Linked DNA regions of Homo sapiens: regions 1, 2 and 4 are each linked to region 3. Evidence: promoter capture Hi-C in human tissues and cell types (Jung and others, 2019). All regions are on one chromosome and are shown on one strand. Each heading gives the region's core, a stretch centred on a gene start or on the middle of the fragment in contact. The rest is flanking DNA. Distances are from core to core; before and after follow the strand shown. Region 1 has its middle 20 kb from the start of NAV2-AS4. Region 2 has its middle 8.8 kb from the start of MIR4486. Region 3 holds the start of E2F8 (E2F transcription factor 8). Region 4 overlaps NAV2-AS5 (NAV2 antisense RNA 5).

Region 1 (2,725 bases), core at 72-2,571, 300 kb before region 3:
CACTGGCGTGGAGGGCTGTGGTGTGCAGCAGGTACACAAGAAATGAATGAGAACTGCAAGGCCAGAACGACTTCATGGGAGGGAAAGGGTCTTTGATTAAGGCAACTGCTCAACTCCAATGTACATTTGCTTTGCTGTCTCTGGGGCTGAAAGCAGGGTAGAGAGGTGGAGAGTGGGACATTTACTTTGGCCCAACCATCTGCTAGGTGTTCCACATGTGTGGAGCCAAGACACAGACACCCTAGCAACATTTTGGTGAGGCAGGTACTACGATTCTCATTCCTTTGCTTTACTCTCTCTCAAGGAAATTAGGCTGACAGACAGTTTGGAAGATTTGCCAGCAATCTTAACAGCTAGGAAGTGGCAGGGGCAGGCTCACCTCCAGCCCTAGCTGGCTCCAAAGCTGGGGCTCGTTCTTTTATGTCCCTAATTCCCTTCTTACTTTCCATGCTTTCTGTGCACTGTGTCTAGCAGGATAAGGTGGCCAGGTAAGCAGCCAGGGGGTGAGGAACTGGGAAGAGGCTGCACAGTACACCCTGTTTCTTCCAGAGGATGAATTCTGTACCCCACTCCAAGCTGTCAACATAGACAGGTGTTCAAGGGTGGAATGTGGCCCAGCTAATCCCTGCCTGACTTTAATTTCCCATGTGTGGAATATGGACTCCAGGGAGGCAGAATCCAGGAGGCAGAAGCTCAGGCCTTGATGCCTACTCAGATCTCTAGATGCCAAACTCTACTAACTGGGGTACTGACCAGTAAGCCTTGGGGATGTGAGATCTGAACCTGATCTTTATGGTGGCCTCAGTCTACACTGTCACCCTTGAAACCTGTGTCTGTCTTACAGCACGGATCCCATTCTGCTGGTATTGGAAAGACTGATAGTGAAAAGAACTCGAGATTAGAGTCAAGAGAGTCTAGGACCAAAGTCCATCTCGTTCTCATTCTCCTTCAATCACTCGGTTTTGATGGAAATCAACTCTGCCAACATAATTGCTATTTCAAAGAAATATTCATTCATACACTCAATAATTTTTTAGCAATCCAAGATGTATTGAGCACTTACTATGTGCCAGGCACAGTATTGAGAACCACAAACCCATAAGATGCTCAATAATATTATTTGAATGAATACAGTGCAAATCATGTTGTAGTAAGTATATATTCACAAGCTTTGGCCAGGAAGAGCAAAATAAGTAGTTTACATTTGAACAATACTTTTCACAAGGCTACAGAGTACACTCACATTCATTGTAATAATTGATGGATTATCCTCAGCTCAAACCGAGAGCATGGCCACTCTAGAAATACTTGGGGAGCTATAAGAGGAAGAGGAGGAGGTGACAAATAGTATTTGATGCAGTTGAGAGGTCAGCCTCAGAGTTAGCCAAGTGAGACAAGAGAGGACAAGGAAGAGAAAGAGAAGTAACTTTTGAACACCTGCTATGAGTATCTCATTTAACGCTGAATGATCCTATGAAGGGAGGTAGGTATTTTCACTCCTTTTTTATAGACAAAGGAAGGCAAGCTCATAGAGGGTAGCTATCTTGGATAAAGTTACACAGTCAAAAATGGCAAAATATCTGACTCCAAATTGAACGTTTTTTAATCCCTATGCCATTCTGAACCTTTCCCAAAAGAGGAAGATGAGGAGGAGAGGCTGTGTCAGTGAGATAAGGTGAGATTTGGTGCGATAAAAGAAAAAGAATAGATACAGGACCACGCAAACAAACACAAAAAGCCCAGTGACATTTCACTGATGATAGCAATGATTACTGTTACGTTGGTTGACAGCATGCATCATCGGCAGTTCAAGCCCTAGTTCCTGGAACTTCATAGATATATTTTGAAAGGACTTTCAGCAGGAAGCCCAAACTTCCAAAAGAGGAAGACTGACTACCATACCAGGCAGTCATTTTTATCTCTACTTTATAGACAAGGAAACTGAGCTTCTACGAGGTTAATCAATTTGCTTTAAGTCACCCATATCGGAAATGGCAGAGCAGGGATTTGAACCCAGGGCTTTCTGACCTTCAAATTTATATTGCTTTTTATGGCCCTATCTTAAAGATGACCAAGGATGGGTGAAGGAACTCTTAGAATCTCAGAATTTGGAAAAGATAATAAACTTTCTCTAATCAGGCAGTTCTCACACTTAGGTGATTGGACCCATGCTCAACCAGTGACATGGAAACCTTATTAAAGGGAAACGGGCTTCATCCCTGATCAGGGAACCTGCCTTCTCCTCTGTGGTCCTGGTGGCAGGAGAGGTACCCAGGAAGGGGAGGGTTTCAGGTGAAGGGGAGAGCAAGGTGGTGCTCACAGTCTGAGTCAGGCGGACCTCCTGGCTCTTGCCTTCTAGCTCAAGACCTTTGACAAACTTCCATGTTTCCTGAATCTCAGTTTTCTCACCTGTAGAATATTTTATAGGCAGCACTTAGAGATATTAATTGAGTATGTGTTTAGGGTCAAAATGACCTGGATTAGAGTAACAGCTCTGCTTATGACCTTCGATGAATTAAAACCTCTGGACATTTGGGGTCCTCATCTCTAAAATGAGCATAATAAAATCTACTTCATGACTTGTTACAATGAAGTGAGACAGTATATATGGAACCCCTCAGTATAGAACCTGACCCCTAGTAAATACTCCACAAATGTTAGCTATTCTTACTCTGGGCAGCGGAGCAAAGTGCTTAAGAGCTCGGGCTCTGGAGTGATCCTTCCT
Region 2 (3,084 bases), core at 92-2,591, 330 kb before region 3:
CCTACTGTGAGCCAGGCGCTGCATCAGCTGCAGGATCACAGCTGTGAACAAGCACCTGCCCTCAGAGAGTGCACAGCCAGGGGGAGACAGAATATGAAATATGAAGTTACACTATAGTGTGATCGGTGTTAGGATGCGAGGGTACACAGAGCCCCTGACTGGGCATGAGGCAGGGTGTATGCAGCCTGGGGAGAAGGTCAGTGATGGGAGACCCCTCGGAAGGAGGAACTTTAACCTGAGCATGACTGTGAGTAGGTTCCTGGAGGATTTTCTTTTTGAAAGAGAGGGTAAAGTGAGGAAATGAGTTCCAGATTGCAGAATAGCCTATGGAAAGACCTAAAGACAAGGAAGAATGTGGTCTATCAGAGGGACTGAATTAAGCTCCAGGGCTGGAGGTTAAAGGGCCATAGTGAGATGTCTGAGGGCCAAGGCTGGGGACAAAGGGGGGCCTGGCTCACCAAGAGTCTTAGAGCTACAGTGCAATGGTTAAGCTCACAAACCAGGGAGGCAGAAAGCCTAGAATTAATGCCCTGTTCAGCCACTTACTAGTTGTGTGACCTGGGGCAAATCACTCAACCTCTCTGGACAGTGCTGATGGGAAAAGAGAGAAGGGAATAAATGTGAGAACATTACAGAAATAAATCTGCAAGATGACTTCAGGGAACCATATACATTGGTCCAAAACATTGCATGGAAAGCCTCAGTTTTGCTCTCTAGTGGGTCGGTTGTCCCCTGGGATCACCACTTAGGATGCAAACTACACTTCCCTTCCACAGCCCTGGCCTCCAATCCTCACCCAGTGTGGATCACTGGCCAGCCTTTCTTTCTTTGGCTGCAAGAAGTCCACAGTCAAAAGTGAAAAGAACCAGTTGCACCCGGTCATCCTGTCCCCGGCAATAGCTGGATGTTCAAGAGAGGAGAAAAAGAAGTATCTGTGAAGCTGTCAGCAGGGAAATTCTGGAACATGGTGGAGACAGAAATATTTACTTTGCAGGGATAAATATTACAGAAACAGCCCTCCATCATCCAGTCTCTGGTCTAATGTAGATTTCTCGTTCCAGAAAGGTATCCTTATTGCCTGCAAAAGTGACAGCTGCAGAAAGTGTAGACCTTTTTCATAAAACAAATAAATGCAAACAAATAAACATAATATATGGAAGATTCTTTCTCACAGGCAATGGTGAAAATACATGGATTTGAGTTAGGCCTTTGTGGGTGTGTCTTTCAGATCCTTGGTGACCATGGGCCAGTTATCATGCCCCTCTAGACCTTAGTTTCCCTGGATGCTGGACAGAGCATATGTAAGTATCTTCACAACATGGCTGTGAGGATGGAGTGTGCCCAGGATAATGTCTGGTGTTTCATAAATATGGATTCTCTGTCTCATACTCATCTTCCTCTCTATAGCATGAACTTCCTACATAACCGGCAGTTCTGGAATATCTGAATCCACAAGCAGCTCCAACCAGCTGCCTGAGCTCCCTGTCTCAGGCACAGGGGTGGCTGCCAAAATGACACAAAGAATCTCAGTAACTGAGCCAAATGGCGTTTGCAAAACTCCTCAAGTTTATGGATCACCTTGAAGTTAAAGGTGGAATTTAGTCATGGTCTCCTTTTGACTCAGAGAGATCTTTACAAACTGGAGATCATTTGCTTGTCTGTAACAACTGCACATTAAAATGACCACCTTGGGCTGGGAGTGGTGGCTCATGCCTGTAATCCCAGCACTTTGGGAGGCCGAGGTGGGTGAATTGCTTGAGACCAGGAGTTTGAGACTAGCCTGGGCAACATGGTGAAACCCTGTTCTTACCAACAGCAACAACAAAAAAAATTAGCCAGGTGTGTTGGCGTGCACCTGTAGTCCCAGCTACTCAGAAGGCTTAAAGGTGGGAGGATTGCTTGAGCCCCAGAGGTTGAGGCTGCAGTGAGCTGTGATGGTGCCACTGCACTCCAGCTTGGGTGACAGAGCGAAGCCCTGTTTCACAAAAAAATAAAATAAAATAAAATAAAATAAAATAAAATAAAATAAAATAAAATCTCCTTGGATAGCTCTTCATGCTGCAGCCCAGTGTCCTGCGGTCTATCCATAGGTTGCTGACATTACAATTCACCAGTGCAAATGAGAGCAAGCCCAGAGCTCCAGAGGAGAAACACGAAGTCGCAAGTTCTTTTCCTCCAGCTGCCATTGGATGCCAGGCCACATCGAGCATTTCGTCTTTAGATGGCGAGACAGCCAGGAGGAAAATTGAAATGTCTGCACAGTGTTGTGTACATTGCATGACAGTGTCTTTGAAAAGCACATCTCATTGGGTGCACACATGTTTGCACACAGACATGGTTTATTTTAATGGTGTATTCAAAGCAGGGAGTGGGCTGTAGTAGTCATTTTACTGGCATTAATTTCTGTGGAAAAAAAAGGCGGGCTGTCAATTTATCACCATAGGAAAATCAATGAAATTTGAGCTTATTCCAGATACCTATGAAAGGGGTGGTTAAGGGAGAGATCAGTGATGCATGTAGCCCTTCCTCAGATGTCCTGACTCCTGGGTTCCTGGGAGCAGAGCCTAGCAAAGAACTGGTGTTTTCAAGACTGCTAATTACAAGCAAATCTCAAATTCAGAATGTGATCAAGCCACTACCGAAGCTCTCACCAAAGGACTCTTGGATGAAGAGGGAGGAGGGGACCTTTAATTGGAGAACAAATGGGAATTTGAATAATTTGAAAGATTAGGGAAATAGGAGAAGAGTACTTCCAAGGGTTTCGAGGCAGTGCGGAGTAGGAAGAAAAGCATGGGCTTTAACCTCAGCCACTGGGCTTTACAGATTTGATTGATGTAGGAGTAAACATATGTAAAAGGACAGCGATGGATCCCGGCAACATACTGGGCACACACTAGGCGGCCGGTGCCATTATTACCTTTTTCTGGAGAGGGGGCAGGCAGGGTCTCACTCTGTCATCCAGACTGAGTACAGTGGTGTGATCTCGGCTCACTGCAACATCTGCCTCTTGGGTTCAAGAGATTCTCCTGCCTCAGCCTCCCGAGTAGCTGGGATTACAGGCATCTGCCATCACTCCTGGCTATC
Region 3 (2,700 bases), core at 100-2,599:
ACCAGGCTAAAGCTGCCTGAGGCTCGGAGACCGGAAAAAGAGGGAAAGACAACAGGGAAGAGAAAGGGAGGAGTGGGTGGGAGACCCTGAGGAAAGACGGCGAGGACAGGGTTGGAGGGTTTTCCGCCTTCCTCCTCTTCCTCCTACACCTGAGTTCTCACCGCTGGGCCAAGGCCCAGAGCCCACGGAGCTTAGGCACCAGTAGCCAAGCTTCTCCCTCCTCGCGCCAGTTTCTGCGAGGCACGGGGCAGACGGTGGGCAGCACAATCATGCATGCCAGGGGTGCAAGGGGGAGAGGTCCGGCTGGAGTCCGAGGGCAGGTGAGCCGGCCTGGGGCTGGGCAGGGGTGAGATAGCCCCAAGCGGGGAATCGCAGGGCGCCTGCGGCCCAGCCCGCGAGCCCCGGACGGGCCAAATTTTATTCCCCAACTTTGAGCAAGGGGAGGGGGTGTATGCAAAAAAAAAAAAAAAGGAAAAAAAAGTTGCTGAACTTTTCCCCCAACTCTGCCGTAGAGGCGGGAGTGGAGGGCGGTGCCTGCACCGATTCGCCGGCGGCTACGGTCGGGAGGCTCGGATTGGCGCTCGGGGGCCGGGGCCGGGGCGAGCGGGCGTGGGGGAGGGGAGCGGCCCTCCCCGCCCGCGGTATCGGCTCGCGCCGGGAGCGGGTTAATTTCAAATCGGGGGCTTGGCTGCTCCTGGACGGTCACGCTCCCTCTGCCCGCCAGCCGGCCCGCCAGTCCCGGTCCCGGCGTCTCTCTCCGGCACCCACCTCGGCGCTGCGGAAAGACTGACTGCCAGGTACGCGGGCTCCCGGGCCTGAGAGGGGCAGCGGTGCTGACGAGTCCCGGCTCAGCCCCCGCCGGCTCCCGCCGTGAGGTGGACTGACAGGTCAGCGGGACGCAGAGGGGCGCGGCGCCCGGGCGACACGGCACCGGGAGAGGGCTCGGGAGGGTGGCGGCGGCGGCGGCGGCGGCCGTTTCCCGCCTCCCGCTTCGCCGGGGGCCGTGAGGGAGGAGCTGAGCTCCCGCGCAGAGGGGCGGGGGCGAACGAGGGGGAGGGGCGGGGTTGCCGTGGTTCCGGGCGCGGGTTTGCCCGCGCTCAGGCCCCGCGCAGCTAAGGGGAGGCGCCGGCCACGGTCCGACTTTCCGCGCCAAATTTTTAAATCGAAGGCGGAAGGTCCGGCCCCGCCCCTGGCGCCGTCGGCCAATCGCAGGCCCGCTTCCGGCCCTCTGATTGGTCGGGAATTGTTGTCCTGGAAACCACGATGATGCTGTCCGGGAACTGTCGGGACTGCGGCGGGCGGACAGGGCCTGGGGGAGGGGCCTTTGGCCGAAAGTTGGGGGAAGTGCACTGAGCGAGTGGCGGCCGGGGGACAGTACCTGCTTGCCTTATTGGGCAAATACAGCCTTCCAAGGTGGAGTCTAACGCCGTGGTGTGAACTGGCCACCCGAACAGGGAGTAAATAGTGCTTTGTATCTTTAAGGAAGCCCTTTTTTAAATTTAAAAAAAAAGTCTTAATTATAAGACTCTTTAAATGCCCAACTGCATACTTGGAGCTTTGGGACTGAATTTGGAACTTTCCTGTCAAGCGACCTCCCACGACTTTACTGCTGAGCCTGTGCACGTGTGTGTAAGGGGAGAAATCCAGGCATCTAGATGCAGACTTGTACCCAGTTACTTGGGGTCGCGTGCGCTCAGCTGGGACCTGGGCTCGTGCGCTTAGTCCGGAGCCCTGATCTGCGAACAGGTGGGTGCTTCCTAAAGTATTCGCTGGGGTCCGGAGAATGGCTCGCCTTTTCTACAGATGGGAGAGGGCTGTCACTAGAAATTCCGTGGGTTGCTTGAAGTCTTAGGACCGCCGATCCGTTTGCTGAAGGAATTTACTGGCATTTGTTGGCGTTCTCCGCTCAGTGGGGCGATCTCTGGTCGAGAATAAAATGTAAATCTAGTTTGTCATTTTTCGTTAGGCTTTGTTTCCGTAGCCTCTTGTCCGTGAAGGAATTTTCAACAGATCTTTTGGTTCTTGTTTTTCTCTAACTTTTTCTATTTCCTTTTTTCTTTAAGGATATTAAAACTTTTAGTACAATTGATTGGACTACTTGAACCATCGGGATTTGGGGAGGAACTCCAGATTTTTCATTTTTAAACTCTAAATGTATGAGGAATTTACAGAATGGAGAACGAAAAGGTACTTTATAACTTCAGTATTCATCATTGCAATTTTAAATTCAGTATCATCCTGATTTAACTCCATAATTTTTCCCTATCCAATGTGTTTTCTTAATGCCACAACCTTGGTTAGCCTCTGTAAAGACCTGGAAAAAATGAACCTTATCTTATAGTTTCAAAAATATATAGTTTAAAATATATACTAATTTAATTAATATAGTTTAAAAAATGAAAATTATCTTAAAAAGAAATTCAGTCTCCAATCATGTCAAATGCCCTTTCTGAATTCCAGTTGTTCAAGAATCCTCAGAAATGTTGTAATGAAACTAACAAATTTTATTATTCTTAAAAATACCTTTTCTCTCTTTATGTCTGAGACAGCTACCAAATCATTAAAAACTAGAAAGAGTGTAAAGGGGCAAACCTACCCCTCTTCAAAAATTCGTTAGTTTCATTACAACATTTCTGAGGATTCTTGAACAACTTGGAATTCAGAAAGGGCATTTGACATGTTTGGAGACTGAATTTCTTT
Region 4 (2,812 bases), core at 150-2,649, 260 kb before region 3:
CTTCTGCTCCATTTTACTGTAAATCCAAAATTGCTCTAAAAAGAGGTCTATTCAAAAAGGCATTATATAACTCAATTTAATCAATTTAATCAAGACCATGTTTACACAGTACTTTGTGTCCACACATCATGATCATAAGACCAAAATCATGTTGGAAACTGAAGAAAGAAAATTACCTGACAGTCTTCCAATCCAGAGGCGAAGTCCAGGTCCCATCTCCTGGAATTCTGATAGGTTCCATGCCTACTTCAACTAACACAATGTGGACACTGCCAGTTTCCAGAGCCAGGACTTATGAAGCTGGCAGTTTGTATTCTCCGCTATTTGAAATACTGTCTCTGGGAGCAATGGACTTCAAACTCTGAAGCCACCATGCTAATGTGGCTGCATGTAGGTGTTCTAGCCAATAGTTACAACTCATATGTAAGTTGCTTTGCTGGAGGGATGGCTTGAAAGCCTGCCTGAATTTCTGACCCACAAAGTTATATCATAATAAAATGATGTTATCTTAAACTACTAAATTTTGGGGTGATTTGTTATGCAGTAAGAGATAACTGAAACAACCTTTGCCCCATCCAACAAATGGGAAAACAGAGGTATAACGAGGTAAATGACTTGCCTAGATAGCTGGGCAACAAGTGAGGCTGGACTCCAAGACTTCTTATTCTTAGCCCCATTTTTCTGCTTCATCTTAATTGCACTATGAAAACCTATAGCTGTCATCAGCAAAGCGTACCTGCCTTTAATTTTAACTAAGGTAACATTATCTGGCACTTCTGTAGCCTGGTGTCAGTAGAGTTCTTTGGCTCTATTCTAAGTGCTTTATGTCGATTTACTTATTTAATCCTCAGAACAAGCCTATGAGGTAAGTGCAATTATAATCTCTAAATTATAAATAGGGAAACTGAGGCACAGAATGATTAAGTAATTTGCCAAAGGTCATATAGTTGGAGGGGAGCAGAGCAGGGATTTGAACCCAGATATTTTTGTTCCTGAGACCATGTGCTTAACTACTGAGGCATATTCTCAATAAAAAAACCTAGAGTATCTTAGATCTCTTCCATTTATTAGATAGATCTCTTCTAATAGAGATGATCTGAATTCATGGCCACTATGTGTGGCTCAGTGCCTCGTATGGCTTCCACCATGAGTAATTTCTAAAAGGTCTCAAGACGCTTTTAGGAGACTTGAGACCCATCGACTGTTCACTTACAATGCGGAGCAAAGCTAAAAAGGATATAACTGCTTTATATCCAGTTGGGTGCAGCATCTTTTTGTCTGCCTGAAACTCCAACAGAGAAGCCAGGGCCACCCAACGAATGCCACAATTAATTTCCCAGAGCGCAATATTGCCTGTGGAAAGAAGAGACGCCGGCTCATTTCTTATTCATGAAGTCACACTGCCAAGCTTCATTTGCATGAAGTAATTTCTGCTGCTGCTACCCTACCATAAAATAAATCCATTTCTCCTACAGTATCTAGTATCTTTACACTAAGAGAAATGAGTAAGCAATATGTGCTATAAGAACACACCCTTTGGACCATTTTAATCAGAAACATGTCTGTAGCTAGCAATAAGTGATTTTATAAGAATATAAAATGTTTTGGGCTCAACATACTCAAAGGCGACTCTGCCTCAAGATCTGTTTTTGGGAATGTGTTTAGCATTTCTTCCTGCTTGGCCAAACACTGAGGTTTTACAACCAGTGGAGTTGTGGAATTATAGCTACTGTACCATCAACCAGAAAGAAAAAGAAGAAGAAAGGTAGGCAGGTCGGTAGCCAACAGAATCCTAATTAGATGAGGTACTGGAAATGTAGATGACTCCATGTATATAGAGAGAATAGTGGTCCTGCAAAGATAACCACACCCTAGTTGCTGGAATCTGTGAATATATTACACGCAAAAGGGACTGTGCAAATGTAATTAAAATTAAGGACCTTGAGATGGGGGAGAATATTGTGTATTATCCAGGTGAGCATAATCTATTCATGCGAATCCATAAAAGTGGAGAAACTTTCCCCACTGTAGACAGTCAGAGAGAGATGTGATTACAGATGAATGTTCAGAGAGAGGCAAGGTTGCTGACTTTGAAGATGGAAGGAGGAGCCATGAACAAAGGAATGTGGGCACCCCCTAGGAGCTGGAAATGTCAAGGAAACAGATTTTGCCCCCAGAGCACCCAGAAAGAAACACAGCCCTTCCGATGCCTTGATTTTAGCCCAGTGAGACGCTGTCAGACTTCTAACCTATGAAAGTGTAAAATAACAAGTTTGTGTTGATTTAAGCCACTATGTTTGTAGTAATTTATTACAGCAGCCATTGAAAATTAGTATACTTTGTATCAAAAGATCTTTGCCACTCACTAGCTGTGTGACCCAGCCTGAGCAACCTTACCCATCAGAACTAGCATTCCTCAGGGAATCAGAGCAAATTAGATAAAGCATCTGAAAGTTTTATAAGTCTTAAAGTGCATTGCAGAGATAAGATTTTAATATCATTAGTATTGTTATTCCAGTCAATTATACTCTGTTCAAGGGATAGCCCACGAGGGATGGCTGGAATTTTCTAGTTCATAATGCTTAAAAGTAATTTAAGCAACTAATACTATCTTCCTCCTGACCAAATATTTTTCAGATGTGATAAAAGTAAATTTAAAAAAAGACAAGAGGTGCTTAATCATTTCTTCAGGACACTTTTCAAGCTCTATCCTGGATAGTAATTGGGGATAGGAATGGGTGTATCAGCTTTTTATTGCCACACTAACAGTATGTAACAAACTACCCTAAAAGTCTGTATCTAAAAACAAGAA

Evidence for each region. Contacts are between HindIII fragments. The study calls those that stand out against the background at their distance.
Region 1: a contact is called between a fragment that was not itself captured here and the fragment with the promoter of E2F8 in region 3, in 1 of the 25 tissues and cell types used here (mesenchymal stem cells).
Region 2: a fragment that was not itself captured here is called in contact with the fragment with the promoter of E2F8 in region 3 in 3 of the 25 tissues and cell types used here (adrenal gland, bladder and spleen).
Region 4: a contact is called between a fragment that was not itself captured here and the fragment with the promoter of E2F8 in region 3, in 2 of the 25 tissues and cell types used here (dorsolateral prefrontal cortex and lymphoblastoid cells).

The regions. Positions count from the first base shown.
Region 1 is chr11:19,542,440-19,545,164 of GRCh38, reverse strand. It overlaps a transcript of NAV2 not described here. Among named protein-coding and RNA genes, the nearest start is that of NAV2-AS4, 20 kb to the right of the region's middle. The HindIII fragment of the contact is 3,031 bases long and covers 1-2,725 here.
Region 2 is chr11:19,564,985-19,568,068 of GRCh38, reverse strand. It overlaps a transcript of NAV2 not described here. Among named protein-coding and RNA genes, the nearest start is that of MIR4486, 8.8 kb to the left of the region's middle. The HindIII fragment of the contact is 7,337 bases long and covers 1-3,084 here.
Region 3 is chr11:19,239,594-19,242,293 of GRCh38, reverse strand. It overlaps E2F8 (E2F transcription factor 8), which reads left to right and starts at 1,349. Exons shown (of 13, transcript NM_024680.4): 1 at 1,349-1,746; 2 at 2,064-2,187. The coding sequence starts at 2,173. The region is part of intron 1 of CSRP3-AS1 (CSRP3 and E2F8 antisense RNA 1); the gene reads right to left. RefSeq lists enhancers at 1-144, 350-459 and a silencer at 580-1,279. The HindIII fragment of the contact is 7,308 bases long and covers 1-2,700 here.
Region 4 is chr11:19,500,373-19,503,184 of GRCh38, reverse strand. NAV2-AS5 (NAV2 antisense RNA 5) reads left to right here. Exons shown (of 3, transcript NR_049725.1): 3 at 1-513. It also overlaps a transcript of NAV2 not described here. Among named protein-coding and RNA genes, the nearest start is that of NAV2-AS5, 5.4 kb to the left of the region's middle. The HindIII fragment of the contact is 5,944 bases long and covers 1-2,812 here.